Linked DNA regions of Homo sapiens: regions 1 and 3 are each linked to region 2. The links are contacts of gene promoters, found by promoter capture Hi-C in blood cells and fetal thymus (Javierre and others, 2016). All regions are on one chromosome and are shown on one strand. Each heading gives the region's core, a stretch centred on a gene start or on the middle of the fragment in contact. The rest is flanking DNA. Distances are from core to core; before and after follow the strand shown.

Region 1 (2,700 bases), core at 92-2,591, 320 kb after region 2:
CAGAAGCAGAGGCTACAGGGGCCCTGCTAAGAGGAGGAACCATTCCCTTTAATTTTTCCAAACCCAGAATCCACCATTGAGCAGGCAAGAGCTCAGGAAGGAGACTCCCCGGTGAAGAGGCACGAGGACGCCTTTAGCATGAGCTGTGCTTCCTCCTTGGAGTTTTCCCACTGAGATTCCTGGGGCCAACACCAAACCCTGCCCCCAAAGTCCCTATTTCATTTTCGCCTAAGAATGAACCAGTTCCTTTCCTTGTCCTTAAGGTCCAGCTGAGTTAGGCTGACCATTTCAAAAAGAATTTGGGGAAAAACAAAAAGGAAATAATTATAGAAACTACAAACAGCATAAAAGTCGTCATGTCCAAAGTGCAGGTTTCAGATTCTGAGAATCCCATTAAATCCAGGGAAAAGCTCACTGAGTTCCACATTCTTTGATTCCCGGAAAACTCTTGATCCTGCTGGCGTAATTTACCAGGCGCCCTGCCTGCCCCTTCCCTCCAGCCCTGCCAGTCTCTGGCCATGTGATCTCCCAGGCCAGCTCAGGCCACTTTGCCATCTCAGTCCATCTTTCACCTTTCACAAGTCAACTCCAACTCTCCCAAAATGATAGCTTATTTTCTGTGTTTACCCCTAGACTCACTAAGCTCTCTCCCCCTAGTCACATCCCCCCTTCCATCTGAAAGGAAATAGGTTCACTGTCTTGAGGAGCAAAACATCCTTAGTTACCCAAGAGTGAACTTTGAGACTTTCAGCTTCACCTACTAAGGAGTCTTCACAAAATAGGACCCTTCCTCCAACACACATACCAACAAATGAACCAATGGGCTTCCGAAAGTCTACATTATGTATAATAATTCCTTTATACATTAACCTTCCGATCCCTTCAAAAGAGTTATTTTTCTTGTTGCTGACCAAGAAGAAATGCCGGGAGAAAACGCAGAGGACGCATTCCCTCTCATCAGCAAAAGGGTTCTATTTGCAAAGCAATATTCAAATAAGAAATAACTGCGGGCTGCTTTTAAGTTAACAATTGCAATCACAGAGAATGAGCTTCTGTCTCTATGCATGTCAGAGTGCCAAGCCCACAGAGTAGCTTCCTGTGAATTTGGTCGTCAATTAAAGTCATGATTGCTGGAACGTCACGACAACTAGGAGGCTCTACATTACCATGTCGCGACAGGTAGAAGCCCACAGTTACTACCAGCAGGAAAAGTCAGGGAATCAAAACTGAATATAGGAAATAAAATTGGGCGGTGCCTTCGCCTTCTACGAATCTTGACTTACTCGGGCTGCCGTCGTTGCCCTGGGATATCTGAAGACGCCGTTTCCTGCGCGTCCTGTATCTATGGAGACGGCAATATGGAGGCGATGTAAGTTCTGAGCGTTAGTCCCAAGGTCCCAGGGTCTCAGGGAGCGGCGCGAGTGGCCAGGGAAGGTATCTGTCCCGGGAGACCCTATCCTTCGGGAAATCGTGGCCAGAGGTCCCCTCCATGCCCTTCAGAGAGCCCCATGGGACTGAGTCTTGGGCGAGATCAATCAGACTAAGGATCCCGAAGAGAAAGAAGAAACAGCTCTAAGTGTATTTTGTCCCCCTTTGTTTCATCTATTTCTTTCTCCCTCGACTCTATACGACGACCTGCCACTTTTTCTAGTGGTCATCTTGGAGATTTTTAGATCAGCAATTAGGCAAATAAAGGAAGCTCATGATATATATTTTTTAAAGTCCTCGAAATTGGAAACTTCAATTTAAAACAAAACAAATCCAAAACAAAACAAAAAACCTCGCTTGCCCAGTCTCTTCACAACGACTGCAGATGTGTGAGTCTTTTGGAAGAATAGTGCAGGCTAGTGGGAAAGTTATGGTTGTTAATTACTATAACGTGTTTGTTTAGTGCTTTTTCAAATCCTCTGTTTCATTCGAGCTGCACATCGACTTTGTGAAATCGTCAGGATAACCCACATTTTACAGGCGAGGAGGCTGAGGCTCCGGGAGATGGAGAAATTTGCCTATCCCCGTAGAGTCTGAGAAGATGCTGGCACCCAGCGTCCCTTGCCCTGGGACCACTTCCCTAGCCCTATGACCTGTGTTGGACCAGCTTTCTACCCCATCATCTCTCATCTCTTCCATGCACTCTCTGGAATAGTTTCATGTGTTGAGTGGAGACTTTTTCAGAGCTCTGAGGCAGGAGCTGTCTGTACAGTCCCCTGAGGTCAGAGGCATTAATGAGTCAGGACAGGGCTGCAAGACCATCCCGTGGCAGAAAAGTAATGGACTCTCTCTGTGTCTCCTCAGCTTACATTTCTTTGATTTCATCTGAACGTCCAGTTCACAATTGGAGGTAGGAGCCTTGCCTGCCTTGTCTGGTGCCTAGCACAGTACCTGGTACATAATAGTAAGTGCTTTGTGAATGAACGAACGACTGAATCTAGATAGTCCCCTCCAGAGGGTTTAGACATGTTGCCAACTAGGAAAACCAGGGTCAACAGAATCTTCCGCTTTGGAAGGGTGTTGGTGGGTGGTGGGGGAGGGATAAGAGAGTGTCTGATGGAACTGTATAAATTCCTAAAGGGTGATCATGAAATTGTTTGCTAAATCTGAACACATTAAAATAAGGAACTAAACGACAAACTTGAAAAAGGATCATTTTAGGCCAAATAAATGGGCAAGTCACACGTAATCATAAACTGTTGTAAGAATTAA
Region 2 (2,700 bases), core at 92-2,591:
CTCAGTATGTTGTCCAAGCTGGTTTCAAACTCCTGGGCGCAAGTAATGCTCCTGTCTCAGCCTCCCAAAGCACTGGGATTAGGGGTGTGAGCCACTGCGCCCAGCCTGCCAACAATCTTAAAACTAATTTTATTTACCCAAAAGACTTAACAAGGCCCATGTGTTCAGATTCCTGTCTGTGTCCCCATCTTTGGAGGAAGGACACCTTTCACATGGGGAAAGGATCAGGGAGATCCCTTCAGGAGAGAAGGATCAGGGAAGTCAGAGAGATTGTCCTGCACATGCTGTTTCTCAGATCCTTCCAGCTTAAAATATTCAACATGCCAGTGTGCCATGTTTCTGGGTGGCATGTCCTGAACCCTCTTATTGGATAGTATAAATGGCTATTCACTCTGAAAATCTGTTGAGCTGTATCTTTACATTCTGTCTACTTCTGTTCATATGTATTACCTTTCATAATCAAAAGGTAAAAATACTTTTTTTAAAAAAAAGCATAAAAGCTTCTAAACACAAAAGTTGGTGTCAGAAATATTCTAAATGGAAAGAGGAAAAGAGTGGCTCCTAAGATGACTGGATTATTAGAAGTAAAGAAATGCCCTCCCTTCTTGCCCAATAAACTCCAGAAGCTCCCAGAGTGGCCCTAGGCGAGAAGAGATGAGAGGGAGGGTCAGCCGTGCTCTCCAGGGAAATCCCCTTGTTTTCCCCAGGCCAGCCCCAAAGGGGCACTAGTCTACACTGAACTCTCAACTTCCAGGCAATAGAGACCACCCTTTCTCTGCTGCTTTATTTGACAGCTTAGGAAAGACTGAAATGTTCAAACAAAAATGAACAACAACAGAAAGCCTTGACAAAGGAAAGCCAGATGCAGAGGACCATGGATCCACATATCCTAAATGCAAGGGAGAGCCTGCTCTCCAGGCTCCAGAGCCTTCCACTCATGGGCTACCCCAGGAATAATAGGGACTCCTCCCTGAGTCTCCCCACTCCTGACTCCAGGCTTTCCTCCCACAGCAGGTGACATTCCTAAGTTTGTATGCATGTGCCAGCACACATTTATATATACAAGTGCAATATGTACATAGTAATGCACACACATATTCTCAAACCTACACACATACACCTCACACACATACATAAACGTAACATATATACACCTACACACACATAAACAGACACATGCGGACTTACACATGGACATCTATACAGAAACACACACATGTAAGCATACATGCACACACACAACACAGGTGCACATGCACATACAATGTTTGCAAACATATACAGCCACAGGCATAGACACACATATACACCTGGATACATATACAAACCCATCACACATGCATACATATGCTCATTCACATACTACAAATACATACAAAAAGGCATACACATATATGCACACATGCACAACATACAAACACAGAGACATGCATGTAGGCATAATACATGCATGCATACTCGTGCGCAAAAAACACACATGTGCAATACACAGATACATATACATAAATGCATGCATACACATATGCAGACAATACATAGATACATGTCACACAAACATATTGCTATATATCCATATATACATATGCAAAAACATACACATATATACACAAACACACACATCTTTATGTACACACCCACAAACACACACCCCACATACCCACACGCACATACTGCATGTGATAGCCATCCTACAAGATGACCTCCAGTGATCCTTACCTCTTGGAATTCATGCCTTTGTGTAGTCCCTCCCACAGTGTATCAGGGTTGGTCTCTGTGGCCAGTATAATATGGCAGAAATGATGGCATGGGACTTCCAAAGCTAGGTTTTAAAAACACTGTGGCTTTTGCCTGGTTCTCTCTCTCTCTCAGGTCACTCACTCCAGAGGAAGCCAGCTGCTGTGTCATGAGGCACTCAAGCAGCCATATGGAGAGGCTGATGTGGTAGGGAACTGAGACCTCCTGCCAACAGCCAGCATCGTCTTGCCAGGAGGGTGAGTCATCTTGAAAGTGGATCCTCTAGCCCCACGCAAGCCTTCAGAAGACTACAGCCAACCCTGAGTAACATCTTCACTGCAACTTCAAGAGAGACCCTGAACCAAAAATACCCAGCTAAGCCTCTCTCAGATTCCCAGTCCACAGAAACTGTGAAATAGATGTTTATAGTTTAAGCGACTAAGCTTTGGGGTAATTTGTCATGTAGCAATAAGCCATAGATATTCTTTGCTAAAACTGGATTTTTAAAAAAAGTAATAGACAATGAATACAAGTACACTACATGTACACATATACACATTGACACACACATCCCATCTACATACACAAATACATCTCCCACACATACAAACCTACATACGCACACACAAACACACATGCATACAGTACACATTGATTCATACAAACACATGCACACACATATAAACACATGGACACAACACCCATGCACAAACATATAAACACATGTATACACATATAAACACATGTACGCATGCGCAAGTCCCGAGAACCCACTTCTAGAGTCTTTGGGCTCTTCACCATCTAGATGCCCACCTGGGGCTCCCCATAGAGCTCTGACCCATCTCGGAGGAGCTGCCTCTTCTCTCTCTTTTTTTTTTTTTTTTTGAGATGGAGTTTTGCTCTGTCACCCAGGCTGGAATGCAGTGGCACAATCTCTGCTCACTGCAACCTCTGCCTCCCGGGTTC
Region 3 (2,700 bases), core at 33-2,532, 260 kb before region 2:
CGTGATACAGCAAGGAGGGGAAAGGCGGAGTTGGACTAGCCGAGGTGGGACAAGGAGGGAGTGAGTGGGGACGAAGGGGAAGGGGAAGGTCACCGTGGAAGGGCCCAGGCCCAGCTCCCTAGATCTCCCCTGGTCTGGGGCCCACCTCCCCAGGCAGGCGGACAGGCGATGGGTGGGGGAGGCAGGATGACTGAACACGGCATGTGGCCCAGCACAGAGTCCAGCACAGTGTCCGGCACAGGATGGCACTGGGTGACCAAGCCGGAGGTGAGCGCGGTGATGGTGGCGATGAAGGTGATGGTGGCGAGGGCGGCCGCACTAGGGGTCCCCAGGCTACCCACACTCAAAGTCCCGCTCGCTGTAGCTGCGGCTGGGCTTCTCGGGGTCCCAGGCCGGGGGCTTGCTGATGAGGTCCCCAAACCTGCTCACAGCCAAGGTCTTGCCCAAGTCATCGTCCTCCTCCTCCACGTCTGGACTTAGAGGGGGCTCCTCCAAGGGCACCCGGACCTGCAGGCCCAGACGGCCTCTGCTAAGGACCCCTGACCCATGAAGGCCCCACACCCACCCCAACTCCAAGCCCTAGTTGGGGGAGCTCAGCAGGCTCTCACACCATCGGGCCCCCTCCCCTTGCTCCCAGGCCTGTGTCAGCATCCCAGAAACCACCCTCTCTGGGCTCCCAGAGCTTGTAAAGAGAGAGGGCTACGGATCTGGAAAATATCAAAAACCCCCCTCTTTCTCCGTAACCCCCAGCCCAGCTCATCCCTGGATCTGGGGGGTCCCGGGGTCGGCCAGAGGACTCCTCTGCCCACCCTAAGGTCCCTCCCCTCTCCTCCCCCATCTCTCCCCCGCCCCCGCGCGCGCCGATCACCTGGGGTAGGGGGGAGGCGCCCCCGGGCGGCGGGATCACTCCGTTGGCCATGGCCAGGTAGGCGGCTGGGGACGCTCTCGCTCACTAGGGGACCCGAGACCCAGGTGAGAAGGAGGGGCCACTGAGGGGGCCTAGCGGGGAGCCCTGGGGGAGGAGGGCGGGGTCAGGTTCCTTGCGCTGGCGCCCCCCACCCGGGAGCCGGATGCACGCTCCCGGCCCAAGCGCCCCTCCGAGGCCCAGCCACGCCCGGGACAGCCCGGGTCCCCCGCCCTGCCCGGCGTGCCCCGCCCCGCGGTACCTCGGGGCTCCGGAGCCTGCGAGGCCCAGGCGGGCCGCCGCGCCCCATGTCCCCCGCGCTCTCTCCCGAGCGCAGCCGCGACTGCCGTCCGGCCTCTCGCAGCGCAGAGCCGGGCTGGCCGGGCGGACGCAGGCGCCGGAGCCCGCAGCCCGCGGCTCCACCTCCTCGCGCTCCGCTCCGCACCTCCGCCGCCGCCGCCGCCGCCGCCGCCGCCGCCGGGCCGCACAATGGGAGCGGGCGGGCCGTGACTCACCCCGCCCCGGCCGGCGCGGCCCCCACGCGCGGGCCCCGCAGCACCCCACCTGCCCGTGCGCCCCTTCTCCAGGCGCCCCACGCATCGCTGGGGGCTGGGGCGCGGCCCGATATTCCCACAATCCCCCAGATTCGCTCCCCAACCCTGCTTTTAGCCTCCCCTCCCCTCCAGAGCCCAGGAAGCCACCCCCTCCGCAGACACAGGCCCCTCCAGTCTTGGGAACGGAGCTCACAGACCCCTGGAAGCACCCACCACCTCCCCTTTCATTTCTACCACAGCCTTGCCTCTCAAAGGCCTGGCTTCTGTCGCCTGGCACCACCCAACGTTTGACCTTGACACAGTACCTCCCCTCCTCCCGCCTCAGCTTCCCCAGCTGTAGCGAGAGGGGCCTGCAATAGGGGTGTTCCAAAGTTCTATGCAACTCTAAGACTGTGTGGCTCCGTTTCCACATTTCCTCTCCCTTCTCCCCCTATCCCTGAGGTCACATCTCATTTTCCAAGGGCAAAAGGTCTTTCGAAGGAGCCACTGGACCCCAATCGGCCCCTATCCCGAGATCAATGAAACTGGACTTCTACACAGTGCGATGCCATAACAGCCCTGTGACCTTGGTACTTCACCGCGTCTGACCCCTGGCCTCATCTAGATCTCAGCTCAACCCAAGGAAAGATTTTCTGTGTGCATAGCCTTCCAAGGGGAAGGGAGCTAGGATCTGTTGGACGCCCACATTGTCTTGTGTGTGCTCACAGTCCTGTGCTAGGTTGGCCCTCTCCAGACTGGCTGCCTCGTCTCAGGCATAATAATAAGAGGAGCTGTTATGATTCCCATTTGGTCGGCAGAGGACAGTGGAGACTCAGGGAGGCTCGTTACCTGCCATGGTCACAGCTGGAAAGCAGGCTGCCGACAGGTTTGGGCATCATTATCCATGTATTGAAGTGACTCTCCAAGCCACAAACAAAATTTTTAACTGAAAGAGATGAACTGTCCTCCTAAGTCTCACATGGTGAGTCCCAAGGTGGGAATTCCTAGGGTGGGAATCAGCTATGCCTAGGCAGAGCACAGCTGTGCCCCAAAACTCAGAATGGGAGACCCAGCTGTTGGGAGTTGAGTAGTGTCCCCCAAAATTTATACGTTGAAGTCCTAACCCCTGGTACATCAGAGTGTGCCCTTATTTGGCAATAACGTTCTTGCAGATGTTAAGATAAGGGTGGACTCATCCATTATGACTGGTGTTCCAGTGAAAAGGGGAAATTGGCCAGGTGCGGTGGCTCACACCTGTAATCC

Evidence for each region. Contacts are between HindIII fragments. The CHiCAGO score rates a contact against its expected background, and 5 or more counts as called.
Region 1: the fragment with the promoter of CFAP65 here is called in contact with a fragment that was not itself captured in region 2 in 2 of 17 cell types (total CD8 T cells and total CD4 T cells); the score reaches 5.5 in total CD8 T cells.
Region 3: a contact is called between the fragment with the promoter of SLC4A3 here and a fragment that was not itself captured in region 2, in 1 of 17 cell types (neutrophils). The highest score is 5.2, in neutrophils.

The regions. Positions count from the first base shown.
Region 1 is chr2:219,040,157-219,042,856 of GRCh38, reverse strand. CFAP65 (cilia and flagella associated protein 65) reads left to right here and starts at 1,341. Exons shown (of 35, transcript NM_194302.4): 1 at 1,341-1,369; 2 at 2,293-2,338. The HindIII fragment of the contact is 30,940 bases long and covers 1-2,700 here.
Region 2 is chr2:219,361,978-219,364,677 of GRCh38, reverse strand. LOC105373883 (a long non-coding RNA gene) reads left to right here. Exons shown (of 2, transcript XR_923917.3): 2 at 1,870-2,176. Among named protein-coding and RNA genes, the nearest start is that of DNPEP, 25 kb to the left of the region's middle. RefSeq lists an enhancer at 2,066-2,115. The HindIII fragment of the contact is 1,677 bases long and covers 503-2,179 here.
Region 3 is chr2:219,626,212-219,628,911 of GRCh38, reverse strand. It overlaps SLC4A3 (solute carrier family 4 member 3), which reads right to left and starts at 1,282. Exons shown (of 23, transcript NM_005070.4): 1 at 1,167-1,282; 2 at 869-1,012; 3 at 342-507. The coding sequence starts at 919. It overlaps LOC124908064 (a long non-coding RNA gene), which reads left to right and starts at 902. Exons shown (of 2, transcript XR_007088701.1): 1 at 902-972. RefSeq lists enhancers at 1-76, 77-779. The HindIII fragment of the contact is 16,254 bases long and covers 1-2,700 here.